Regions from separate parts of the Homo sapiens genome. Here regions 1, 2, 4, 5 and 6 are each linked to region 3. The links are contacts of gene promoters, found by promoter capture Hi-C in blood cells and fetal thymus (Javierre and others, 2016). All regions are on one chromosome and are shown on one strand. The core of a region is centred on a gene start or on the middle of the fragment in contact, and the rest is flanking DNA. Distances in the headings are between cores, read along the strand shown.

Region 1 (4,492 bases), core at 430-2,929, 330 kb before region 3:
CCTTTTAAAGCAAGCATGGCAATTTCTTCTAAATAAGCTGGATAAAATTAAAAACTCATTCATCCAAAGATCCTAAAAAATCAACAAATTCCTAAATATTAAATGGTATAGACACAAGTGTTTCTTAAATCACATAACCTTCTCCACGGACACTGTGAAGATGTGTTGCCAGTGGCTTCCCTAAGAGACTGTGAAACTTTTTAAATAGTGTATACATACAAGAAAAGTGGATTTTAGTGTAATCTTGCAGAAGAACAAAACAAACATGGTATCTAAGAGTACAAAGGCACAAAAGTTGAAATTTCATAGTCACTCAGGCCTTGGAGTACTGTATTTTCTTGAAAGGGAAAAAAGTAGGCCAGGTGCAGTGGTTCACACCTGTAATCCCAGCACCTTGGGAGGCCAAAACGGGAGGATCGCTTGAGGCTAGGAATTTGAGACCAGCCTGGGCAACATAGCAAGACCCCTGTCTCTACCCAAAAAAAGAAAAAAGAAAAGAAAGAAAAAAGTAGGTGGTAAGGAGAAGTAAGGAGAAGATGAATTTTTTTTTTAAAAAAAGTTCTGTATACCACATGAAATTTTACTGGGAGGAAAGTGTCTGAGGTTTTAAGAGGCATAAATTAAATAACCTTGAAACCCATTTTGCTCTAGGACTACCCATGTGTTTTCTAGAGTAACCAATGTGTATATTCCATGTATGTGAATGAGAGATGAAAGGAAACAAAAATAACTTCCCTTCCAGGAACAGTGGAAGGCTTCAGCCAACAAAGTAGGTCACAGCATCAGACTACATTGCCTGCTGATGTGTACTGCCTAGTTTTTGAATAGAATCAAATGACAGCTTCCTTGAGATTAAATGACAGTTTCCCTGACCATCATCTTAAAGCACGCCTATGGTGGATCGCTCTAGAATGAACCATAAACCCGAAGTTCTCTTTAAGCTTTAGTGAAACGAAATAGTAAAAGCTTTTCACGGAAAGAGAAGGGAGTCTCCAACATTTATACTGATTGATTTTGGCAGCAATGACTTTCATTAGAAATGTAATTGCTGGGTATGCAAAAATTAGCACTGTTGGGGCTAGAGAGATCTTTGTTTTCCTTTCTTTTGTTTTGTTTTGCTTTTTTGCCTAATATTGATAGTGTTTTCTCGGTTTTGCCATAGCCCTTCTGTCAAGATGCTGGCAATCAGTATATCATGAAAAACAGACTGCCCTTTCTCGCATTTATTGAAGAGAGATTCTCATGATCCTATGGTAAGATAACAATTGCTTTTTTTCAATCCATCCTCCACACTGCAGCCAAAGCAGTCATCTTAGTAACAAACGTGAGCACGTTTTCCCTCACTTAAATCTTTAAATGATTTTACACCTGAAGGACAAAGGTCCCCCATGGTCTGACGTTTTCCTACCCTTGGCGCCATCTGCCTTCACATTTCTAAAGGCACCTTCCGTCCCCGCCATATCAAACTACTCGGGGTCTCCAGAATGAAGAATAATGTGCCATCTGACACTCCTTTGTCTTTATTCGGTTATTGCCTCTGCCTGAAATGTCCTTACTTCTAGTTCCTACTCAGCTTCTGGAAGCCTTCGCTAACTCCTTAGTCCAAATGAGGACCCCTTCTCCACAACACACCCTATACACACTGTGAGTGTGGCACGTGTCACACTGTACAATGTCCACGATTCACAATGCTGAGGGCTTCTTGAAGACACAGTCCACTTCTCATTGAACTTTATTCCAGTTTGTGTCCCCAGTGTCCAGGCATCTGGTTAGGTCTCCAACTGCTTAAGAGTGTAAAGAGTGTTGATGAGTTCTGTATTACTCATGGGTCTTGGTTATAAGAGCCAAAAATACCATTCCAACTGAAGCAAGCAAATCTAGGGGGTAAGGAAAGGAGAAGGAAGAAGGAAGATGAGAAGGAGGTAAGAAATCAGGAAAGGATTTAAAAAGGTGGCATCTGGGCAACATTTAAGGCAATTTTCCAGCTTCTCTCATTTGCACCAGTAGGAGTGGGCCATGTGGCCACAGAGGAGAACATTTCCGAATACCCTTCTGGATCCTGCTGATTTTGGGGGGTACTTACCTCCTTCTGTCCTCAGCACCCAAGTGCCAGATGAGGCAAGTGAATTCCTTTGCAAGAGAGGAAAGAAAGGCAGTTTCAGTGAGAAAATAACAATAAAAAGTGAAGTGGGGGGAGAAATGTATTAGTTCGTGTAATGAAAAAGTTGAGAAATCCAGAAGTAGCAATCACTTTAGGCATTGCTGGATCCTAGAGGTTCAACCACCATCACAAGTACTTAACATCCCTCTCCACGTATATATTGCCCAGCTATACATTCCTCAGTTTTAACTTCATTTTCAGTCAGCTCTTTCTACAGAGTAACATCCTACCTGAAGCTTATTCTGCTAATTTAGCAACTGAAGGATGAAGTGCTTCACTTTCCCAACAGTTCCTGCAAAACAACCCTAGGATTGAGTCTCATTGCAGTTAGTTGGTCTGAACCAATCACTGGGATCAGGGGGATGGAAAATGATACTAATCAAACCTGAGTCACTTGCCTCATCCTGCACTTGTCAGGTAAATGGGGCAGAAGGAGGTAAACCTCCCATCCCGCCCACCACCCAAACCACTGGGACCTAGAAAGGTATTAGGAGGTGTTCCCCTCTGAAGCCACACAGCCCACTGCCATTGGTGCAGATGAGAGGAGCTGGAAAATTGCTTTGGAAGTTGAGCCATTGCCACCTTTTTTTGGTCCAAGCTTGCAGTTTCTTGGGCAATGTAACTATACAGTTTGAAATCAGGCAACTCAGGCAGGCGCGGTGGCTCACACCTGTAATCCCAGCACTTTAGGTGGCTGGGGTGGGGGATCACCTGAGGTCAGGAGTTCAAGACCAGCCTGGCCAACATGGTGAAACCCTGTCTCTACTGAAAATACAAAATTAGACGGGTATGGTGGTGCACACCTGTAATCCCAGCAACTTGGGAGGCTGAAGCAAGAGATTCACTTGAACCCAGGAGGCGGACGTTGCAGTGAGCTGAGATCACACCATTGCACTCCAGCCTGGGCAACAAGAGCGAAACTCCATCTCAAAAAAGAGAAAAAAAAAAAATTAGGCAACTCTACTGACCGATGGCCCAAGTCAAATATGTTTGGTCACAGTCCTAGATTCCAGACCCTTTATTGCGGGATTTTTGTCTCAGCACAGGCCCTAATGCTCTGCTATCCCACCTAGTCCTCAACCTAGTGTTGTCCATGCTGGCTGCCCCAGGGCAGAACCAGCACCCTCAAAGCACAGATAACTTGGCCCTTGCCCCTTGGTTATGTCTGATGGGTGACTCTTTACAATGGAGACCATTGTCACCCTTCTCAGGCTGCTAAATGTCTGCAAGATGTTTGGGAGAAGCCTAAAAGAACAGGAATGAAGCTTCTCTCTGACTCCTATCTTATCTTCTGATATGTTTTCCACACCCTAGGCTTTGTGAGAAGTAATATTAGTTGATGACAGAGAACCCCACTTTTCAATTCAGCGAAGCTCAGAGACGTCTAATCTAACTTTCTATTATTTTATTTATTTAATTTTTTTGAGACAGAGTTTCATTCTGTTGCTCAGGCTAGAATGCAGTGGCACCATCTTGGCTCACTGCAACCTCCACCTCCCAGGTTCAAGCGATTCTCCTGCCTCAGCCTCCCAAGTAGCTGGGACTACAGGCACATGCCAAGACACTTGGCTAATTTCTGTGTTTTTAGTAGAGATGGGGTTTCACCATGCTGGCCACACTGACCTGGCCTCAGGTAATCCCCCAGCCTCAGCCTCCCAAAGTGCTGGGATTACAGGTTTGAGGCACCACGCCCAGCCAGGGACATCTAAGTTTCTAAGTTGATGGCTGTAGGAAGAAAGGGCCTCCTGTAGCAAAGCTGTCTTTTCTTCCCTTGCTGCTTTCAGATTGCCCATTTCTAACAAAACTTGTTTTTCTGGTAGGACCTAACCGAAGGCTACAAAATAAATTCATCTTATTCCATCAGCCTGACATTTTTCTACCATCTCTCTTTAACTTTCAACTTCAGTAGGCTCATGGTCAGAGCACCAAGAGAAAATAGAATAGTTTCACCACTGCCTTGCTATTACTGCACAACAAAATTGCCAGCTTCCTGCCCAAAATCGAGAGGTCCTCACTGCCCCTATCCCATCTTGACTGAGCCACGTCTCTATTTGACAATCTGCAACATGTACTCTCTCACCTCCAGATACGAATTTAGAAAGTGTTCAGAGTCTTGTATTAATTTGTTCAGGCTGTCATAACAAAGTACCATAGACTGGGTGGCTTAAACAAAAGAGACTGATTTCCTCACAATTCTGGAGGCTGGAAGTCCAAGACAACCGTGTTGGCAGGGTGGGTTTCTCCCAGGGCCTCACTCCTTTGCTTGCAGATGGCCACCTCATTGCTTCATCCTCACATGGCCAACTCCCATTCTGTGTGTGTCGGTGTCCT
Region 2 (4,176 bases), core at 985-3,484, 280 kb before region 3:
TAAAATTAAAAAAAGAAAATTTAACAGGTGAAAATGTGAACTTAATTTAAATTAACAAATTGAGAGCTTCCTTTGTATAAAATTTTATTAGTGGGACATTGTTTTGATCATTACAAATAATTTTAATTTTCAAAGTAGCTCTTTTTATGGATCACTAACTAAATATACACATATGTGTATTTTAATATTATAAACTAGGAAGTATCACACACACATGACATTTTCTAATGCACAAATGGAGAACATGTAATTTTAAATCCCAACCCTACAATCACTTAGAAGTTAATATAAATCAGAGTTTAATTTTTTCAATTAAGATCAGCTTTTCTTTCTTTTTAAAATGGTATGTTTCCTATCATACCATTCCATCCCAGAAAAAAATAAAAGAAATAATTAAAAATACTACAAAATATGAGAGTTGTGATATCCCTGTCATAAATAAGGGACTAACGGTAAAACTGATTTTCCTGCAAAGAGTTAAAAATCCTTTATAATATCACACCATCTCATAAGGGGGAACGGTTACACTAAATATAGAACGTCTTGAATGCCTGCAAAGCCAAAATGGTGAATAATAAAAAGGAAATAAGCTGTGAACCAGGTATCAGCCTCCTCAAAGAGAAAAGTTTGTGTGAATATTGGGAACCCTAGAATTGCTTTATCAGTCATCTGAGGACATCCAGACTGCAGAACAATTGTCTTGATCTGCAAATAATTTCTGCTTATCATCAGACGGTTGTGGTGTAATACCAAGAAATAAATGTCTAGCACAGACTTTCTGTTTATGATGTTACACTAGAGGATGTATGTAAAAATGGTTTCTGAGGCTATCCTTACTCCTTGGCTCTTGGCTAGCAATCTTAACAATTTCTTGATATGACACTTTTTTTCCTTTAAGATTTTACTCTAAGGATAATTTTCCAAGTGGGTTGCATTCTGAAATTGTTTTGTTACTCTTAACATTACTCAAAAAAAAAGCTTCTCAGATGTGCAAAGGTATTTTCAAGGGATATAATGGCTGCTTTCTGTTGGGACATAATTCTTCATGAAGCTCTTGCGTTTCTGCATCTCTTGTGAGCCAAAGCATTAACTTCCATTTTGTTTCAGACTACCTTTTCCTGGATGTTTGTGTCAGCCTTGGAAGGTTGAGATCTGTCTCTCTCTAAAACTGACAGTTGGTTGCTTCCTGTCCAGTATAACAAAGCTAATATATCCCCCTACAGTGAAGGTCAGGCAGGTTTGCTTGCAGCCCTCTATAATAGATATTCTATAAATATTTTAGAAACCAAAGTTTGAATCTATGTTGCCCCATAATCAGCCAGTGAAAGCCCATTGAGACAAATGGAACAATGAAGACTGAAATTTAAACTTTTGTTTCAATGTGGAAATTTTGCTATTTGGGCAATTTCACTCATTTAGAAAACAGACTGTAGTTGGTGTCCTTGTTAACCCCAAGTCTTTGCTTAATTATTATTCAGTGCTGCAGCTTATAGTATTAGCTGTGATTTGGGGCCTTAAGGAAGGGCTTAGATTGGCCACAGTCAGGACAAAGCAGCATGAAAAAAGCTGTGGCCAAAGAGAAGCCTGTTACCTGCCAGTGGCCAGAGGTGACCCTGGAAGCCAGCACAGCCGCTGCCCAGACAAGAACAACCAGGACGGCTGTGAGTATCCTGGTGGATGATGAGGGGAACCTGGTCAAAGACTAGACTTCTTCTTTTTTTTTTTTTTTTTTTTTGAGATGAAGTCTCACTCTGTTGCCCAGGCTGGAGTGCAGTGGCGCGATGTCGGCTCACTGCAATCTCTGCCTCCCGCGTTCAAGCGATTCTTCTGCCTCAGCATCCTGAGTAGCTAGGACTACAGGCATGCACCACCAAGCCTGGCTAATTTTTTGTATTTTTAGTAGAGATGGGGTTTCACTGTGTTAGCCAGGATGGTCTCGATCTCCTGACCTTGTGATCCACCCACCTCGGCCTCTCAAAGTGCTGGGATTACAGGCGTGAGCCACCGCGCCCAGCCCAAAGACTAGACTTCTAAAACATCATCTGGGCGGGGTGTGATGGCTCACTCTTGTAATCCCAGCACTTTGGGAGGCCAAGGCGGGCAGATCACCAGGTCAGGAGTTAGAGACCAGCCTGAACAACATGGTGAAACCCCAACTCTACTAAAAATACAAAAATTAGCCAGGTGTGGTGACGCACACCTCTAGTCCCAGCTACTCGGGAGGCTGAGGCAGGAGAATCGCTTGAACCCAGGAAAGGGAGGTTGCAGTGAGCTGAGATCACACCACTGCACTCCAGCCAGGGTGACAGAGTGAGACTCTGTCTCAAAAAAAAAAAAAAAAAAAGATTCTGGGACAAATGCCCATCAACGATAGACTGGATAAAGAAAATGTGGCACATATACACCATGGAATACTATACAGCCATAAAAAAGAATGAGTTCATGTCCTTTGCAGGGATACAGATGAAGCTGGAAACCATCATTCTCAGCAAACTAACACAGGAACAGAAAACCAAACACTGCATGTTCTCACTCATAAGTGGGAGTTGAACAATGAGAACACACGGACACAGGGAGGGGAACGTCACACACTGGGGCGTTCCCCCAGGGCAAGGTTGGGGGCAAGGGAAGGGATAGCATTAGGAGAAATACCTAATGTAGATGAGGAGTTGATGGGTGCAGCAAACCACCATGGCACATGTATACCTATGTAACAAACCTGCACGTTCTGCACATGTACCCAGAACTTAAAGTATTAAAAAAAAAAATGACTCCGAGAGACGAGAATTGAGGGGATAAGTGGTCAACAATAACAATACTAAACTCAGCCAAATTAACTGCTGTATTAAAAATTGGGTTTCAATAATAAAATGTGGCACATCAAACCAGCCTGCCCCTATAAAAATATCAGGTTGATCTATTCATCAAACAAATATTTTTGAACATATAGTCTATGCCCAGGCACTGCACAAAATCCATAGGTATAACATGATGAACAACATGGCTTCCTGCTAGGATCTTAAACACTCAGAGGGGACAACACACCTTACTGGCAATGGCAACATAGTTTTATTAGTTAGGGTATGTTCAGCAAAAAAAATCAATAGGTTTAATAAAATTAAACTTTACTTCTTTTGCACAAAAGTCCAGATAGACAGTCCCAGGCAACTATGTAGACTCCACAATCATCGGGACGATGGGCTTCTACTAAATTGTTGCTCTATCATCGACACATGGCTTCCACCTTGTGGAAGATTCCCAGTAATGGGAGATCTCTCAAGAACCCACAAAACATTCCCTGGTGCCCAGAGACCATCAATGCCAGGTTATCACAGTACCGGTGAGGTAAGGCGTTCCTACACCCTTGCTACTCCTACTTAGGTACTTTTACCAAATTCTGGAAGATTCAGAGTCAGCCAAGTATATTAACACAGGAAGGAGAAGCACACAGTAGAAAAATGGAGAAGTTGGCCATCTTCCTCCCAAACTGAAAGCTTCCCAGGAGAGAAGCCAATGTTAACTTTATGAAATTCAGAATGCTGGTTATTAAAGTTCTTGGAAATTTTAATTATTGAAATTGAGGCTCTTCTTGAGATTTAAAGTGATCAGAGGGCATTGGTCAAAAGAGTTATGGTACCCAATATCTCATTCATCAGTTCATTTCTTCTATTCAATTCAACAAGAATTTCTAGTATGTGTCCTGCATTGTTCTAAGTATTAAGGAATGATATGAAAGAAACAAATCTCACAGTTGATGTGCCAAGCCCCAAGTTTACAATCAAAATAAAGCCTAGAATCTTGAACAGAATTGGTAACTTAAAATAGTGCGGTGGTTGCTATAGAGTGTCGACCTTAAAGAGATTCAAGAAATATGGTTAAATATAGCATTTAGTCAAGCACAAATTTTAAGGATAGGCATCCAGGAACACAGATTCCAAAGAATGGAAGCCAGTGCTCCAAAGTGGAGAAGTTTTGGGGGTCATTTATATAAATAAGGTTTGGGAAGCTTAACAATGTTTCAACATTTTCCACACAAGGCTAGCACACAGTTACAGTAATCTGATTAATTGAGGTGGTGTTCTTTTTGGGAAAGGTATATTTAACATTCCACATTGAGGATATAACAATCATGGAGTCTTCCGCACCATCTGATCTGAGTTAGATGCAAGATAATAA
Region 3 (4,641 bases), core at 1,698-4,197:
TTAGATGGGTTGGAGTGTGTGCCCTGGAAGCACATGGCCTTACAGGCTGTTCAGAACCAGAGGGAGAACCACAAAGGATGTCATAGACAGTAGTTGTGTTGAGAGCCAGAGAGCCTGCTAAGGAGCCTGCCATGTTGAGGGTTAAGGAATTGGAAGGTGATCGTGGCAGGAATCAGAAGGTTTTACAGTGTTGGTGAAGCTAGGACATATCTCAGGGCCTTGGCCCAGCTGAGAGACAGGTCCGAGCAATCTTCATCAGCAAGTTTCAGCAAGAGAACACCCAGGACACATTACATCTCAAGGAGCAGAGAAAATTAGTCTGGCTAAAGAAAATCCGGCAAAAATGCAAAAGAGAACTTGCAGATTTCAGGAGCCAGATTCCCCTATAGTGCCTTGAGTTCATGTCAGCTACCCATCATCCTCCCTTCCCTTCTCCCAAATGCCATTCTGAGGGAAGCCCACTGAGAGGGACTGACTGGTTTAACCCAAACTTAAAGGAACTGTTTAAATTATTGCAGCACAGTTTACCAAATCGGTCTACATCTAGGGTTTTCCCTTCTAATGACCAAAGGCTGAGGACATTTTATTTACGCAGCTGAATGTATTTTGAGTAAATCTATGACATTCTTATAAAAATATCAAGTAGCTTTTCACCAGAAATGTTGCCAAGAAAGAAGATTGTGTCATTGGTAATTGCAACTTATTTTTTTAAGCTTAACTTTCCAAGGGTATCTATATTTTTCTTATGTCCAAGTTTTTGCTGGATTTCCACATATTGCCAGCTATATGCTTACGTGTATACCGAATGACTTATTAGAATATATGGGGGAGTGATACAAATATGTTTGGATTAGACATAAGTAAAGCTGCCGTTGCAGAGAAAGAATGAAGCAAATAAAATTAGGGTCACAAAATTAATGTTATGGTTAGATATTCCCAATGAATAATGGGAAACACTATTATACAGAAAATACACCTTACTTCCTAAATGGTCAGAATGAATGAAATGAGTGGAATTATCAAAAAAGTAAAATGTAGGCCAGGCACAGTGGCTCAGGCCTGTAATTCCAGCACTTTGGGAGGCCAAGGTGGGCGGATCGCTGGAGGCCAGGAGTTCGAGACTAGCCTGGCCAACATGGCAAAACCCTGTCTCTACTAAAAATGCAAAAATTAGTTTGGCATGGTGGTGCATGCCTGTAATCTCAGCTACTTGGGAGGCTGAGGCAGGAGAGTTGCTTCAACCTGGAAGGCGCAGGTTGAAGTGAGCTGAGATCATTCCACTGCACCCCAGCCTGGGTGACAGAGTGAGATTCTGTCTCAAAAGAAAAAAGAAAAAAAGTGAGTTTTCTTCTCTGGGCTGTTAAAAATTTGAACTCAAAGAACCATTTTATAAGTGAATGTGAAAAGCACCTGAACTACTGCTATTAGCTGCCCCTCTCGTCACGTGCTCTTCCTCCTTCCAGGAAATCTGAAGCTAGTATTAGCTTTCTTGTCTTGCTTCCACTGCGCTTGCTGCTAAGGAGGAAAAGCAACAAAAATACAAAATATAGTTTGGTAGAGGGAATTAGCTATTCATTGGACAAATTATTATTATTCTAGGAATCAATGCTTTTGAGATGTACATTAAAACCCATTTCCTCCATAAAGTTTTCTGTTAACTCTATATATTTCTAATCATTCCATTTCCTATCCTCATTATAGCCATCGTTTAATGCAAAATTTAATACTTTGGCAAATACCATTTTTTCTCTCTCATTCTGATAGATATGTAATAATGTAAACAGGTTGAGAGCAAAGTTCATGACATCTGCATAACACCTAACAATGCCAATGTCAACATAGACAATAAATGGCAGAATTGATTTAAATAGTCCCTTAAATGGCTTCTGTTTATTCATTTAGACCATGGGGGAGGGTTTTAACAAAGGATGGTAATAAAACCTTTCTTTTCTCTGAAGCTAATTGTAGATGCTGTATAATGTTCCAGATTTTCCTTAGCTTCTTTCACGTCATTGTGGATCCCATCTTATCGATTTATCCTTTTTTTGTTCTTCTTTTTTTTTGAGAGTCTCACTCTGTCGCCAGGGCTGGAGTGCAGCGGCGCGATCGCGGCTCACTGCAACCTCTGCCTCCCGGGTACAAGCGATTCTCGTGCCTCAGCCTCCCGAGTACCTGGGATTACAGGCTCCCACCACCATGTCCGGTTAATTTTTGTATTTTTAGTAGAGATGGGATTTCATCACGTTGGCCAGGCTGGTCTTGAACTCCTGACCTCAAGTGATCCAACCGCCTTCGCTTACCAAAGGGCTGGGATTACAGGTGTGAGCCACCGCGCCCGGCCTTTTTTCTTTCTTTTTTTTTTTTTTTTTTGAGACGGAATCTCACTCTGTTACGCAGGTTGGACCATCTTATAGATTATCAATTGTACAGATAATTGCACTCCGGCCTGGGAGACAGAGTGAGTACCTGTCTCAAAAAATAAAATAAAATAAAATAAAATTAAAAAAAACACTTAAATTAGTGAATAACCTTGGTGAAAAGCCACGTCCATGCTTCTACGGCATTTCTCTTCAAAGCTAAAAAAAAAAAGAAAAAATCAAAAATCAACCCAAAGGTGTAGTAGAAGACTGCATCTGCGACCGTATTTAAGCATCGGTCATGCTGTTAAAGGAGAAAGTGGACATCCTCTCAAGGAAACTTTAATCCTGCCCCCAAAGGATTAAAATCCCGTAACAAATATTTGTTTATAACACATCTTGACAAGATCAAAACATTCTGGTAGGGCAAATAGTAAAGACTAAATCTTGAACATTGACGAAAACTTCCTGAAAGGCCCAATGTATTTGACAGGAGAGGTAACTGGGGTCCCGGGCCTAGCGAGGCGGGGCGGGGAGGCGCAGGTGTCACCGCGGGCGCCCAGCTGCTTACGTCACAACCCGCGGAAGGCGCCGTGCGCCGGTTGCTATACAGGCCGCACTTCACACCCCGTGCCTCCCCGCCTCTCCTGGCTCCTCCGCCCAGATCCCCGGCGCTCCCGCGTTCGGTGACGGCCGGGTAGGCTGTAGGCAGCGCAATGCCAAGACAGAGCTGCTGGCGGCGGCGGGCGAATCTCCCTGCACCATGAGCCTCGGCTCCGGCCCCGTTAGGGGCCGATAAGCACAGCGCACGCCGCCCTCCATTTGCCCCGGGGCCTCGGCTGCGAAGATAGCGGCGGCCGGACAGGAAGCTCGAGGAAAGCGCTGGGCCGGGTCTCTACGAACACGTGAAGGAAAAGCAGCTCCGTCCACAACGCCGCTTCGGGGCTCCTAGGTGAGAGTCTCCCCGGCGGAAGCGTGGAGGGGCCGGGGTGCCGGGAAGCGGGGCGGGGAGGAAGCCGCGGACACGGGCTGGGCACTCGGGGCTCGGGGTCGGGGTGAGTAGAGGCGGAAAAGCAGTGAAAAGGGAGGCCTTGGGCGAAGACGGGGGCTGAGGGCGGGGCGCGAGCCCGCGCCTGGAGCCCGGTGAGGGCGTGGCCTAGAGCGTGAGGCCGCGTCCTGGGGCGGGGTGAGGGGCGAGCGGGGCGGGCCCACGGCATGCTGCGAGCCCAGCCTCCCGCCAAGCACCGTCCCCCATCCAGCCCCCTGTGGGAGGAGCCGTGGGAGGGGTCGCCTCTTGCCCGGCGCGTGCGGCAGTAGCGTCTCTGCGTTCGGCCCCGCCCTACCCAGGGCCCCGCCCCCTTCCTGGCGCGCGCTGTATCCTGATGCGATCCCCCTCCCCCCTCCGGGTTCATGTAGGGAGTCGGGCCCCGGGCCGCCACCGTCACCTCGGCCGCTGCCGCTGTCGCCATCGCCTTGTTTCCCCATCCCCCGCCATGGCCGAGGACCTCTCTGCGGCCACGTCCTACACCGAAGATGATTTCTACTGCCCCGTCTGTCAGGAGGTGCTCAAAACGCCCGTGCGGACCACGGCCTGTCAGCACGTGTGAGTAGACGCCCCCTCCCCCTCGCGGAGCCGGGTTGTCGCTTAGGCCCGGCCTCCGGCCCGGGACCCCGGGCTGCCGCCTGGCGGGAACCGAGCCCGCCGCGGCCTGCCCGAGCGTCGCTGCCCCGCGAGGTCCCGTTCCCCGCCCCTCAGAGTCCCGGGGCGGCCTTTTCCTCAGCCTCGGGGCCCGCTCCCCGCGTCCAGCCCCCTCAGCCCAAGCTCCCGCTCTCCCGCTCTCCCGCTCTCCCGCTCTCCCGCTCTCCCTGGCTTTCGCGCCCCCGGGGCAGTGGCCAGGCCGTTCCCTGCGGCGTCTTCAGGCCCCGGAGGCCCCTGTCGTCTCCGCCAGGCCCGGGAGGAATTGCAGGGATCTTGGAGCCTTTTTGTTTCTTAGCAACCCGGGTGAAGGCTGGGGTGTCGAGTGTCAAAAGCGGCCGGCGGTGCTCGCGCGGGCCCGCTCGCCCCGCGACCTGCCCTGCTTTCAAGTTTCCTCTTTCAGAACCTTGGTCCGTCCCCTCGGTCCAAGAGCTCTTCTGTAACTTCCCCTCAACCCTGCTTCACAGAACACCCTCGAGAGCGTTTTGTTTCGTTTCCAGTCCACTATGTGTTAGAGGGATCTAGAATGAGTTTTCTTCTCTGGTCTCTTAAAACTGACAGGATTTTCGGGCATTGAAATGAGCGTTC
Region 4 (4,879 bases), core at 818-3,317, 260 kb before region 3:
AATTTCCAAGTTGTCACACATTACTGATGATGATCAGGGCAGGCATGGAATTCTGCTGACTTGTTTCAAACACTGTAACTTGGTCCGATAACTTGGCAAATACCCTAGGAGTTCCAAGGTTATAAACACCTGTATGAACAAAGCATGCTTTCAGCTGCAGACTGTGAATCTCCTGGCTTTTAAGTTGAAGTTTATACTGTGTTTGTCCAAGCCATGTGAATGATCCATGGATTTCCAGTGCTTCTGGACTAAGGGAGGAGGAAAATGTAAGTTGCAGGATTTTTTTCTTTTTAATTTTTTTCCCAAAGTCACATTAACATATCCCTTTCAGCTGGGCGCGGTGGCTCACGCCTGTAATCCCAGCACTTTGGGAGGCTGAGGCAGGTGGATCACCTGAGATCAGGAGTTCAAGACCAGCCTACCAACATAATGAAGCCCCGTCTCTACTAAAAATACAAAATTAGCCAGGTATGGTGGTGCACGCCTGTAATCCCAGCTACTCAGGAGGCTGAGGCAGGAGAGTCACTTGAACCTGGGAGGCGGAGGTTGCAGTGAGCTGAGATTGCACCACTGCACTCCAGCCCATGAGAGAGCAAGACTCCATCTCAAGAAGAAAACAAACATCCCTTTCATCTAACAATTCTATTTCTAAAAATTATTTTATGAAGCCAACTGTTTATTAATAATAGCAACATCATTACTATAACAGCTAACATTTATTATTTAATAGTTTCTATTCTCTAGGCACAATGCTAAAAGTGGATTATTTCATTTAATGCCCTAAGAGTTAGTATATGTTGGAACTTGATTTCAAACCTAAACTTTTAACTCCTTAGTTAGCCATATATAAGTGTCTGTACATGAATGCTTTTAATATTGAAACTGTTTATAATATTGAAAAATGGAAAACCCAGTACCCAATAAAGTATTAATAAATTTATGATACACAAAATCACATATATAGGTGTGTGTTTGGATTTCAGAGAACTGTCCCAGATCCTGTTTGGGGTGTTATACAAAAATATTAAGTATACGCTTTATAGTATTTTTCCAAAAATTCAAAAATTTCTGAATTCCCAAAAGCATTTGGCTCTAGGAGTATCTGATGTGGGACTGTGGATCTGGATTTTTTTTTGTTGTTAAGTACTATTTTATAATCAAGAAAAAAAAATCTTTAATATTTAAAGCCTCTGTAACACATCTGTAAGCCTTCTATATTACCAAACAAAAAACCAGGACAAGCTTGAGTAACTTTCTTATCCATGTTAGGTAATTATTTGCATAATTTCAAAATATTAAATTGCTCCCAAATCAAATAACCTTGCACTAAACAAATCTTTACCTTGTTGTTTTATGCCGAAGATCAACTATGACATCTACATCAGCCTTAGAACAATTGGAAAGTAAAAGAGTGACTGGTACTAAACAAAGGCTATGGAAGAAAAATAAACAAAAAAGTTATATATTTTTTTCTTCTTAAAAGCAATTTTCCTGAAAATAACACTTAAGACTATGTAACAGAGCATAAGCTCCTTAAAAACAATCAGATTCAAGAAGGAAAAAGCTCAAGTTCCAAAATCACTCAAGACAAATTATATTGTAAATAAAAAATATATTAATACAATGACAATATTAAATATCAGAATATATACATTCACAGAACTATTTTATTTTCATTTATTAATCTTCTAAAAACAACTAAAATGTTTCTAGATATTTCACAAAATGAAAAACAAAATCTCAACTTAGATCAATGAAGAAAAAGTAAACCATGAAAATGCCAACAACTAATACTGTTGTCTTTGTGCTTATTAAAAATTACTTAATTTTGAGAACTTGGCCTAGACTGACATTTGTTTTTCTATCAAATTTGCACAACATCATGTTTTGAAGAATATAAGAATGATTTCTATATAGTTATGAGGAAATCTCTTTCGAGTGGATACATTTTGCTCAGGTAGCCTAGTTTCTGATACCATAATTAATAAATTACTAAAGCATAGGAAAAAAGGCAGTGATAGAAGAGGACATGCGAATAGAGTGGTACAGATTTCAAATCAAGAATGCAAGAAATGAATATAACATGTACAAATGAAGCAGGGTTATATACTATTATCTACCTTTTACTCTATAAACACAAAGATAGTAAAGAAGAAAAAATAGTAACCGTATAAGTTCATACACATTAACTTTTAAATTCTGCTCAGATAATATATTTTATACTTTCAGAAACTTTATATCTTCTTACTGAGAAATACTTTTTAAACAATACCGCAAACGTCACAGGTTTCCCTAAACAAAAACTAAGATGATTTAAAATACATACCAGGTTGTACTGGTGCTATGCCCTAACTTCCCCCACAAACTTCTCATGTGGCAAGAAGGGCAACAAAGACTACTGGGTAGGTGTCCAGTCAGTCTGAAGCATCTCATTAAATTAAGTTCCAATTGCATAATTTGTAGCCCAAAGTAAAAATTCAGGAACTTATGCTATTCTGTTCCCATTTGATCCTCAAATGTCAAATTCTTTGTACCTTATACAAATGCTTCTAGTAGAAGAAGAAATGTGAACATGTGGATATCTCCTGGTCCAAAGTGAAACTCATCATCTTCATTCCAGTGAAGAGCACCCCCATCTACCCCAGCAAACTGTAAGTATCATACTGATTCCTCCTAACAGTCACTAACCTCCACTCCCAATGTTCTTCACAAATTCCTGCCAATTCTCTCACCCACACATCTCTGGAACCTGGTTACTTCACTGTATCTCATTTTCCTTACAAGTTCAAGTCTCATGTCTCATTTTACTGCAAGAGCCTCTTAATTAGCACCACAATGCAATCTATTCTTTAACCATGTTTCTCACACTTGAGTATGCACCAGAAATACCTGGCAAGCTTGTTTTAAAAAACCTGCTGGGCCTACTCTCAGAGATTCTGATTCCATAGGTCTGGAGTGTGGCCCAAACATTGCATTCCTAGGCTGGGCACGGTGGCTTGCGCTTGTAATCCCAGCATTTTGGGAGACCGAGGCGGGCGGATCACAAGGTCAGGAGATCAAGATCATCCTGGCTAACATGGTGAAACCCCGTCTTTACTAAAAATACAAAAAGTAGCCGGGCGTGGTGGCAGGTGCCTATAGTCCCAGTTACTCGGGAGGCTGAGGCAGAAGAATGGCATGAACCCAGGAGGTGGAGCTTGCAGTGAGCCGAGATCACACCACTGCACTCGAGCCTGGGTGACAGAGCAAGACTCCGTCTCAAAAAAAAAAAACAAAAAACAGAAATTACATTTCTAAGTTCCCAGATGATACTAATACTAATGCTCCTGGTCTGGGATCACATTTTGGTTGTTGTTGTTGTTGTTGTTGTTGTTTTTTATTCTTTGAGATGGAGTTTTGCTCTTTTTGCCCAGGCTGGAGTGCAGTGGCACGATCTTGGCTCACTGCACCCTCAGCTTCCCAGGTTCAAGCTATTCTGCCTCAGCCTCCCCAGTAGCTGGGATTACAAGCGCTCGCCACCACACCCGGCTAATTTTTTTTTATTTTTTAGTAGAGATGGGGTTTCACCATGTTGACTAGGCTGGTCTTGAACTCCTGACCTCAGGAGATCCGCCCGCCTTGGCCTCCCAAAGTGCTGGGATTACAGGTGTGTGCCACCAGGTCCAGTCTTGGGACCACATTTTGAAAACTGCTTTACACATTAGTTTTTCTAAAATGCTAATCTAATGAACCACAAACAGGGCTGAGAAATCAAAGTTCTGACAACTATTCTCCCACCACTGCATCCAGTGAAAAAGCTGGGCTCTAGAGTCAGACTGCTACCTGTACCTCAGTTTTCTCAACTGTAAACTGCAAAGAATAATAATTGATTCTACCTCTTGGGTTTGTTGTGATTAGGTAAAACATGTTAAGTGCTGAGAATGGTGACTAGCACATGTTCAAAAGCTCCATAAACATTATTTAATATAACAATTTATGCTCATGGCAGCTAAACATAGTATGATTTTATCTTTGTTATCTCCTGTCACCTATTCTTTCTTCTATTCTCATACCTCTACTGCTCTGTGTCCCACTACCATGACCAAACCTCCTACTGTCCCATTTCCTCACATTTCTACTTGTTTTCTGAAACCCCCATTAAATTAAGAATGCTTCCTTATATCCTCCATCTCTTCTCTTTGTGTTTCTACATCTATCTTTAACTGTATTGTCCTCTCAACAATAGATGCTGTATTTCTTCCAACATCTTCCATACCTCAGGGTGGCTGATGTAGTTCTTAATGATTTCTTTCTACTACCTCTCCTGTAAAGATGCCTCCACTTTTTCATCATAAACTACCTTAAGGTTTGTATTCTTTTTTCTGTTCCCATTCTAACAAACACAGTGACAGTAACTCAGTACAGCGAGAATTCTTTGGGGGAAAGGGGAAGAAATGGATATTCTGAAATATTTGAGGTAAAGATGAAGCATGTGTAGTCTGAACATCTGCTTTACCTCCCATTTGTGAATTCATCTGCTGTATCGGTCAAGCAGAGGCATACACCTAGTAAGACACTATTCTCTCGCTACCCTCCTCTGTACTATCTATTGGCATAATTTTAAAAGTGTCAGGGAAGTTTGTTTTCTTCCTTCAACTCCAAGTCTTGTCATCATTTTGGACAACTTCACTGTCTAGGTATATGACTTATTCAGCACCTTCCCAAATCCTGGACCTATCATCTCCATAATCTTCAGTACTATTCAAAACTCAGCCACACAACTTCCATGACCAAACCATGAAATTTTTTCCCATCACATTAGACAACTATCCCTAACATAATACTCGGTCACCCCACTTTGACCACCATCTCCCAACTCTCTAGCTTTCTCAATTATACT
Region 5 (4,628 bases), core at 1,664-4,163, 360 kb before region 3:
AAAACTATAAAAAAATTAGTCGGGCATGGTGGTGCTCCCCTGTGGTCCCAGCTACTCGGGAGGCTGAAGTGGGAGGATCACTTGAGCCCAGGAGGTGGAGGTTGCAGTGAGCTGAGATCACACCACTGCACTCTAGCCCCTGTGCCAAAAAGAAAAAAAAAGAAAAAAAAAGGATCATAAGTGACGATTGTCAACAATTATATGCCAACAAGTTGGATAACCTAGAAGAAATGGATAGATTCCTAGAAACATAAAACCTAGCAAGTCTGAATCATGAAGAAACAGAAAATCTGAACAGATCTATAATGAGCTAAGAAATTGAATCAGTAATCAAAAACTTCTCAACAAAGACAAGCCCAGGACCCAACAGCTTCACTGGTGAATTCTACCAAATATTTAAGGAAGAATTAATGCTAATCCTTCTCCAACTCTTCCAGAAAATTGAAGGAAAGAGAAAACTTCCAAACTCACTTTAGGAGGCCATTATTACTCTGATGCCAAAGCCAATAAAGACACTGCAAAAAAAATTACAGACCAATATCCCTGATAAACATAGATATAAAAATCCTCAACAAAATACTAACCAAATTCAACAGCATATTAAAAGAATCATATGCCATAATCAAGTGAGATTTATCCCAGAGAAAGGGTGGTTCAACATATGCAAATATGTAAGATCACATGAACAGAATAAAGAAAAAAATTATACGACCATTTCAAAGATATATAAAAAGCATTTGACAAAGTTTAATATCCTTTCATAATAAAAACTCTCAACAGATCAAGTATAAAGGAATATACCTCAACATAATCAAGGCCATATATGACAAGCCCACAGCTAATATCCTCCTTAATGGTGAAAACCTGAAAGCTTTTCTTCTAAGATTAGGAACCCGGCAAGAATGTCCACTGTTACCACTTCTGTTTAATATAGTACTGGGAGTCCCGGCAAGAACAATTAGGCAAGAAAAAGAAATAAAAGGAATCCAAGTTGGAAAAAAAAGAAGTAAAATTATCTCTATTTATAGATGATACGATCACATATACAGAAAATCCTAAAGACTCCACCAAAAAAACCTGTTAAAATAGACAAATTTAGTATAGTTAAAGGATACAAAATCAACATAGAAAAATCAGCAGTATTCCTATATACTAACAACAGACTATCCAAAAAAGAGATCAAGAAAACAATCCCATTTACAGTATATCCAAAAAAAAAAAATACTTGGGAGTAAATTTAACCAAGGAGATGAAAGACCTGTACACTGAAAACTATAAAACACTGATGAAAGGATGAAGAAGACACAAATAAATGGAAAGATATCCCCATGTACATGAATTGGAAGAATTAATATTGCTAAAATGATCATTGGCACCAAAACAATCTACAGATTCAATGCAATGCCTATCAAAATTCCATGACATTTTTCCCAGAAATAGAAAGAGAATCCTATGAAACCACAAAAGACTCCAAATAGTCAAAGAAATGTTGAGCAAAAGGAAGAAAGCTGGAGGTCTCATACTACCTGATTTCAAATTATACTACAAAGCTATAGTAATCAAAACAGCGTAGTACTGGCATAAAAACAAATGCATAGACTAAAGGAATATAATAGAGACCCCAGAAATAAGTTTATGCATTTATGTTCAGTTGATCTTCAACAAAGGTACCAAGAACATACAACGTTCAAGAAAGCACAGTCTCTTCAATAATTGGTACTGGGAAAACTGGATGTCCACATGCAAAAGAAGGAACTTAGACCCTTGTCTCACCCATAAAGAAAAATCAACTCAAAATGAAATAAAGACTTAAATGTAAGTCCTGAAATTATAAAACTACTCAAAGAAAACATAAGGGAAAAGCTCCAAGACATTGGTCTGGGAGATGATATTTTGGTCATATATGACCCTTGATACACAGGCAACATAGTGAAAAGAGAGAAATGGGATTGCATCAAAATTAAAAGCTTCTGTACAGAATAGGAAACAATCAACAGAGTGAAAAGGCAACCTACCAAAGGGGAGGAAATATTTACAAACTGCATACCTGACAAGAGGTTAATATCCAAAATATATAAGGAACTGAAACAACTCAATATTAAAAAGATAAATAATTCAATTTTAAAACAGGCAAAATACCTGAATAGATATTTCTCAAAAGAAGACATTTACAAGTGGCCAACAGGTATATGAAAAAATGTTCAACATCACTAATGATCACAGAAATGTAAATTAAAACCACAAAGAGATATCACCTCACACTGGTTAGTATAGCTATCATCAAAAAGACAAAAAATAGTAAGTGTGGGTAAGGGTGTGCAGAAGACAGGACCCATGCACACTGTTGGTGGGACTGTAACTTGGCACAGCCATTATGGAAGACAGTATGGAGCTTCCTCAAAAAAGTAAAAATAGAACTACCATATGATCCAGCAATTCCATTTCTGGGTATATATTCAAAGTAAATGAAATCATTATGTCAAAGAGATATCTTCATTCCCATGTTCATTGGAGCATTATTCATGATAGCCAAGATATGGAATCAACCTAAGTGTCTGTCAAGAGATAAATGGATAAAGAAAACGGGATATATCTATGCAATGGAATACCATTCAGCCTTAAAAAAGAAGGAATTCCTGGCTGGGTGCGGTGGCTCACGTCTGTAATCCCAGCACTTTGGGAGGCCGAGGTGGGCGGATCATGAGGTCAGGAGACAGAGACCACCGGGTGAAACCCTATCTCTACTAAAAATACCAAAAATTAGCTGGGCGTGGTGGCAGGCGCCTGTAGTCCCAGCTACTTAGGAGGCTGAGGCAGGAGAATGGCATGAACCCAGGAGGCAGAGCTTGCAGTCAGCGGAGATCATGCCACTGCACTCCAGCCGGGGCGACAGAGCGAGACTCCGTCTCAAAAAAAAAAAAAAAAAAAAAAAAAAGGCAAAAAGAAGGAATTCCTGTTATTTGCAGCAACACGGATGAACCTGGAGGACATTATGCTGAGTCAAATAGGCCAGGCACAGAAAGACAAATACTGCATAATTTAACTTATATGTAGAATATAAGAAAGTTGAAATCATAGAAGTGGAGAGTAGAATGTTGGTGGCCAGATGCTGGGGCAGAGTGGGGCTGGGATGGGAATGAGGAAATGTTGGTCAAAGAGTACGAATTTTCAGTTAGACAGAGGGATGAAGTTCTGGGGATCTCTTGTACAGCATGGTGACTATAGTTAATAATAATGTATTGTCTACTTGAAAATTGCTAAGAGAATAGATTTTATAATGTTCTCACCACAAACTAAGTATGTGAAGTGATAGATATGTTAATTAGCTTGGTTTAATGGTGTCACAGTGTATACATATATCAAAATATCACATTGTATACCTTGAATATATATAACTTTATTTGTCAACTATATCTTAATGAAGCTGGGGAAAAAATCAATAAAAAGTAAACACACACACACAGGACAACTGAAGATCACTTTTTATTTTGTAGAGACAGAGTCTGGTTGTGTTGCCCAGGTTGGTTTCAATCTCCTGGCCTAAGTGATCTTCCTGCCTTGGCCTCCCAGAGTGCTGAGATTACAGGTGTGTGCCACCATGCCCAGCGGAATATCACTTTTACTTAGGAATATAGGTCAGAAATATTTTTTTAACCAGCAAATCAAATCAAACAATATATTAAATAATCAATTTAACAAAATAGGATTTAATTTAGGAATTCAAGAATAGTTCGAGCACTGGAAGAACATGATTTAATATTTTAAGAAATGGAAAGAGAATAAAAACATGATCATAATAACTGAAGCTACAAATTCAACCAGACACTTTTGCATTCTTTAAAACTCATTTAAGATAAAGAGAAGCTTCCAAACATGTTGAAGTTTATTTCCTACAAATCAATCATAAACATTTCAAATAAACACAAATTATTTTCATTAAAATAGAAAAAAGAAGAATGCTGTCTACTACCCCTAATGGTCAACAGTCATTGCAGGGAGTATAACAGATAATGTGGTAAAGTAAGAGAAATAAATATGTAGTTTAACTATGGGGAAAAGCCTGTTTGATATCCTTTTCTATTTTGATTATAAATGTGCTTAGGTTCTTCAAAAGACGTGATCTGAGAGTAGCACATATTAAGGTCATGTCTTATTACTACAGGCTGTTCCAGAAAGGCCATGGGGCTTTCTCTGTTTATGGGAACAGCTGAATATGATCAAAACTGGATGGGCCAAGTGCATAGGGCCTGTGCTGCCAAGACATGCCTTCAAAAATAGGAAGTGAAAATCCAGTCCCATGCTTACGTATCAAATATAGCATTGGCCCTCAAGTTCAAACTGCTAGAGTATACTCAAATTGCTTCATTCAGCTAATTTTGGGAGTATACTAATGACCAAAGGACACTTTACTATAAAGTGACATTTGTTAATAGAGTTCCAGACTCCAAAATGCAGTTTCCAGGATACTTGTTAACAGAACATAGGGTAACCTAATAATTCTACCACTTAGTCACAAACCTATTTAATCCAACATTTTTTCGAATTCATTTACTTAAGAAATTAGATCATTCATTACAATTAATTTGGCAAGCAAAGACAGCCAGCTGCTCAAGTGAGATCCCAAATTT
Region 6 (4,530 bases), core at 1,514-4,013, 300 kb before region 3:
CGAAGCAAGGAGAAAGGCCTCAGGAGAATCTAACTGGGCCTGAGCTTTGATCTTGGACTTGCAGCCTTCATCACTGAGAGAAAATAAGCTTCTTTGAAGCCATCCAGTCTGCAGTATTTTGTAATGGCAGCCCTAGGAGACTAACACAGAGGGCATGGCCCAGGATCTCACCTTCGTCTTTGCAGGACTAAAATCTAATTTTGTTTGTTTACATGATAGATAATCATTCCAGAACTGACTCATATTTACCAAACTCATAAAAATTTGCTGTGTAGACCAGAAGAATAATTTGATTAACATAGCAAAATAAAGCCTCCAGGAGAACTGGAGCGCACTCCGTCGATGCCAGTGCATTCTCTCCCTGTTGGCAAATATTTGGGAAGCTAAATTATTATCTGAAGGTCACTTGGTGAGCATGGTTTTAAAAGAAAGAGAAGTGGAGAGTATTGAAAGACATTGCTGTAACTCAATGCTGCCAGTGACATGGGCCTGTGACCACAAAATAGGTTTACATCCTCTTTGCTTATTCAACTTATTATGACTCTAACACCCACTGGTCCACTTCCTTCAAAGCGCCTTGCCAGTTATTTGTGGGAGTTTCTCTAGGTCTTGCCTCAAGGGAACTATGCCACAGATCCCTGTTGCTTCTTAACCCTCAACACTGACCATCTTTGTAAAATAGCCACCTGGTGGGGACAGCTGTCCCTCATGATGCCCACTCTAATGCTTCCACTCTGCCCTCAGTGTGGGGACCCTGTTGCCACTAATTCCCCGGAGGACAGTTCAGACCAGACAGTGGCTTTTATTAATTTTTAGTAAAGTAGGAAGACAGAAAATGATGTGGAAACTATCTTATAACTGCTACTGACCATAACCTCAAGAGTTCCTGGAGAGCTTGCAATAGACCTCCTCATAATAAGAGTAGGCCTGACTCCCCAGGCACCTCTAGGCATCCCCACAAATTAAGTTCAGACCCAATTGCACCCGAGGGGATGTCCTCTCCCACTCCGTCCTACCTCAGGATGACTGGCAGTAGAAACAGGTATTCCCCGCAGGGGAGGAACCCTCACACTCACCATGTGATGTGGCTTCACGGCTCAGACACTGCAATAGCAAAAGCCAACACTACCCTCAGTCTTAAAACCTCCCTTTTCTTGACACTTCCACCTTCTAAAGATGCCAAGTATATGGATGTGACTGTGAAATGTGCCCAGATAAATTTTAAGGAGATACAATATTGACTCCTGAGTGTTAAACCAATAAATTACAACATAACAGATGTGATTCACCCTGTTCAAAGGTTACTTTAGAGGTTATACTTTCTCCCAGGCCATAAACAGGAATAACACATAAGGGCAACTGATGCTTGATTGGACACAAAAGGAGACTAGCTTTATCACTGCTATGGACACATCGGAGACAGAATAGGTGAGCAGAGGATGTTGTCTATGTGACGGTAATAGATGGGTATTGGATAATGAGAAGCCATTCATCAGAGCCCAGGAAGAAGAAACCCAGAGCCTGGGAAGAAGAAACACTGAATCTGAGAAACTCAGTCACCAGAGAGTACTTTTCTGGGAAGCTGTGGTTTATGGAAAAGAAGGAATGCAGGTTGGAAAAGCAAAAAGAGAGCAGAGGACAGCTGCTTCCTAATTCCACAGGTAGCTCCCACCTGGGCTATCTCTAGTGTATGGCTCTTGAGACTTCATATTTATTTAGATTCTGCTTTACAGTTTACAAAGGGCTTCATATGTCTCTTATATGCTGAGGAAAGATAGTGGTGTTATATTGCTGAGGGAAACTGAGGCAAGATTTTAGTACTAGTAGAACTATAGAACTGATCTAGCACCCAGATCTTCAGCTTCCAATTCAAAGACATTTCCCCTCTAGGATTGCTGATCCAAACCAGAAGCTTGTCTCCGCAGCTTTGTCTGCCCTTTCTTGTCAAGCCTCCTCATGCCATTGCACTTTCCTACTTGCCTTGAACACCTTCCCTTTATATTCCTCCTGATTTGGTGCCATCCTATGCCTGGGTTGTTACAGAGAGTATATAGAAACAGCACAAGGCCATTGTTCTATCCTTTCACCCTTTGAGATGCAAGCACTATTTATCTTGGAATTTTTCATTTGGGTAATAACTAGACAAAGAATTACAGTACCTACTCCTTTCCTCCTTCAGCAAGGAGTCCTCAGGCAAGGTAACACTACTGGGGCCAGGTTCTCAGAAGAGAAGACTGTGAGAAGGAGGAGGAGGAAGAGGAGGAGGAGGAAGAGAGGAGGAGGAAGAGGAGGAAGAGAGGAGGAGGAAGTGGAGGAGGAGGAAGAGGAGGAGGAGGAAGAGGAGGAAGAGGAGGAGGAGGAGGAGGAATAACAGCCATTTATCATTCTTTGTATTGTTAGCTGGTGAAGCAAAATGGATACACTTTGTCTCTACAAACACACATTACAGCCAATGAGACATAAAAAAGGTGAAAATGGGCTACATTTTAAAAACATTATTTGCCTTGCATATTTTTATGAGTCTCCTTGACCCTGAAACTGAGGAAAAAATAACCTTCAAAGCAGAGAAGGGAGGTAGTGAAAGCAAACCAAACCAGAATACGAGATGAACATCATTGACATCAGAAACCATCTGCTGGTCTTTGTTGTTAAGAAAAACCCGTTAGCCTGGTTTAATGGGGACAGATCAGACAGCATGAGGTGGATTGTGCTGAAAGAAAACATGCAACTATCCCCCTATCCTTTGGGTATAAGGCAGGTTCTGACATTAGGCTAAAAAGACTGGCATTTAATGGCCCTGCATTTGCATAATGACCTTCCTTCTGTAGCTTGTGATATCTCAGCTAATTGCTTTAGAACACTTCTGCTACATCTGGGGTTTTTTTGTTTTTGTTTTTGTTGTTTGAGACCAGCTTTTCACTTGTTTCCCAGGCTGGAGTGCAATGGCGTGATCTCGGCTCACTGCAGCCTCCGCCTCCTGGGTTCAAGAGATTCTCCTGCCTCAGCCTCCCGGGTAGCTGGGACTACAGGTGCCCACCACCACATCCAGCTAATTTTTATTTTTTATTTTTGGGGGTTTTTTTTGTTTGTTTGTTTTTGAGATGGAGTCTCACTCTGTTGCCCAGGCTAGAGTGCAGTGGCATGATCTTGGCTCACTGCAACCTCCAGCTCCCGGATTCAAGCATTTCTCCTGCCTCGGTCTCCCAAGTAGCCAGGAGTACAGGTGCGTGCCACCACGCCTGGCTAATTTTTTGTATTTTAGTAGAGATGGGATTTCACCATGTTGGCCAGGATGGTCTCCATCTCCTGTCCTTGTGATCCACCCACCTCAGCCTCCCAAAATGCTGGGATTACAGGCGTGAGCCACCACGCCTCGTCCATCTGTTAGGTTTTACTACTTTCTAATCCATTCAAAATCCTCACTACCGGCCAAGTCCCAAGCCACTTAAAATTTTTGGAACATGAGGTTGTATGAACCAGAATTCATATGATTCACCTGGTGAGATATATGTGATGTGCTATCAGAAAGAAGGTAATGCCCAGAGAGAACACAAAGTCATAAAAAAAAAATCCTGATTTCTATGTCCTCTTATGTCACAGGGATGAGCTTTGAACAAAGCTTTGTTCCTTCCCATTGAGCTAGAGGAATCTTCCTGTGGATAGAATCTGTGATTCTATGAGTCAGGCAGTTCTCAAACTCCTCTGTGTAACCTGTAACTGAAGAATAAGGAGGTTCATAAATTTGGAAAGGAGAGCTTAATTTCTCAGCAAGACTTGCAGCCTGTATGGTGGCAATTCTGACAGGCTGGGAAGCACAGCCTTCAGTCAGAAGCCAGAAACAGACACTTTGAGGGAGGGGGAAGGGGAACAGGAATTTATGCAAGCAGGGTGGACAATTAGCCATAGATAAATATATCTTAGTTCTTCAGGTAATTCTGATATGAATACCCCCCACATTTAAAAAGCTGTAGGAGGAGTCATGAATATTTATGAGAGGAGAAACGTGCATGTGCAGCTGAGCTTCATGCCCCTTCATGGGTCCCAAAAAATGTCGGCATTGGCACGATCCGATCTTGGCCCTCTAACATCAAAAAGTAAAGTAGAGGACACAAAAACCCTCACTATGCATCCTCTGTGGACTGGCCAGAACCAATCTGTGGTAGGTGGTCTATCATTAGGAAGGAAGCCTGATTGGTTGTGGTGTCAACACTGCAAAAGGGAAGGGCAGCATCTGGCTGTTGGCTGATATCTGCAGTGGTGTCTTTCAGAAAGGCTGGTTTCTGGCCAGTCAAGGTGGCTCACACCTGTAATTTGAGCACTTGGAGAGGCTGAGCAAGAAGGATGGCTCGGGCCTAGGAGTTTGAGACTAGCCTGGGCAACATGGCAAGACCCTGTCTTGTATTTTTTAAAAACTTTAAATAAATACATAAAAATTTAAACATTTTTTAAAAATTAAAAACCAAAAAGGCTAGTTTCTGTTTAGCCATCAGGGAAGAAAGCCCTAATGACGTCAGCAAGGAAGGAGGTATA

What was found. Contacts are between HindIII fragments. The CHiCAGO score rates a contact against its expected background, and 5 or more counts as called.
Region 1: a fragment that was not itself captured here is called in contact with the fragment with the promoter of RNF138 in region 3 in 1 of 17 cell types (total CD4 T cells); the score reaches 5.1 in total CD4 T cells.
Region 2: a contact is called between a fragment that was not itself captured here and the fragment with the promoter of RNF138 in region 3, in 2 of 17 cell types (non-activated CD4 T cells and total CD4 T cells). The highest score is 5.6, in non-activated CD4 T cells.
Region 4: a contact is called between a fragment that was not itself captured here and the fragment with the promoter of RNF138 in region 3, in 4 of 17 cell types (total CD4 T cells, naive CD8 T cells, total B cells and 1 more). The highest score is 7.9, in total CD4 T cells.
Region 5: a contact is called between a fragment that was not itself captured here and the fragment with the promoter of RNF138 in region 3, in 8 of 17 cell types (naive CD8 T cells, total CD4 T cells, monocytes and 5 more). The highest score is 7.8, in naive CD8 T cells.
Region 6: a fragment that was not itself captured here is called in contact with the fragment with the promoter of RNF138 in region 3 in 1 of 17 cell types (M0 macrophages); the score reaches 5.2 in M0 macrophages.

What each region holds. Positions count from the first base shown.
Region 1 is chr18:31,760,977-31,765,468 of GRCh38, forward strand. No RefSeq gene overlaps it. Among named protein-coding and RNA genes, the nearest start is that of SLC25A52, 2.3 kb to the left of the region's middle. The HindIII fragment of the contact is 1,431 bases long and covers 965-2,395 here.
Region 2 is chr18:31,813,631-31,817,806 of GRCh38, forward strand. No RefSeq gene overlaps it. Among named protein-coding and RNA genes, the nearest start is that of SLC25A52, 55 kb to the left of the region's middle. The HindIII fragment of the contact is 2,516 bases long and covers 977-3,492 here.
Region 3 is chr18:32,088,927-32,093,567 of GRCh38, forward strand. It overlaps RNF138 (ring finger protein 138), which reads left to right and starts at 2,948. Exons shown (of 8, transcript NM_016271.5): 1 at 2,948-3,309; 2 at 3,774-3,960. The coding sequence starts at 3,851. LOC124904278 (a long non-coding RNA gene) reads right to left here and starts at 3,019. Exons shown (of 2, transcript XR_007066327.1): 1 at 2,929-3,019; 2 at 2,349-2,576. It also overlaps a transcript of RNF125 not described here. RefSeq lists an enhancer at 2,647-2,696 and a silencer at 3,367-3,786. The HindIII fragment of the contact is 10,157 bases long and covers 712-4,641 here.
Region 4 is chr18:31,830,742-31,835,620 of GRCh38, forward strand. TRAPPC8 (trafficking protein particle complex subunit 8) reads right to left here. Exons shown (of 29, transcript NM_014939.5): 28 at 1,343-1,432; 29 at 1-248. The coding sequence ends at 14. Among named protein-coding and RNA genes, the nearest start is that of SLC25A52, 72 kb to the left of the region's middle. The HindIII fragment of the contact is 1,655 bases long and covers 1,241-2,895 here.
Region 5 is chr18:31,732,575-31,737,202 of GRCh38, forward strand. No RefSeq gene overlaps it. Among named protein-coding and RNA genes, the nearest start is that of SLC25A52, 26 kb to the right of the region's middle. The HindIII fragment of the contact is 1,897 bases long and covers 1,966-3,862 here.
Region 6 is chr18:31,791,420-31,795,949 of GRCh38, forward strand. No RefSeq gene overlaps it. Among named protein-coding and RNA genes, the nearest start is that of SLC25A52, 33 kb to the left of the region's middle. RefSeq lists an enhancer at 1,152-1,211. The HindIII fragment of the contact is 1,707 bases long and covers 1,911-3,617 here.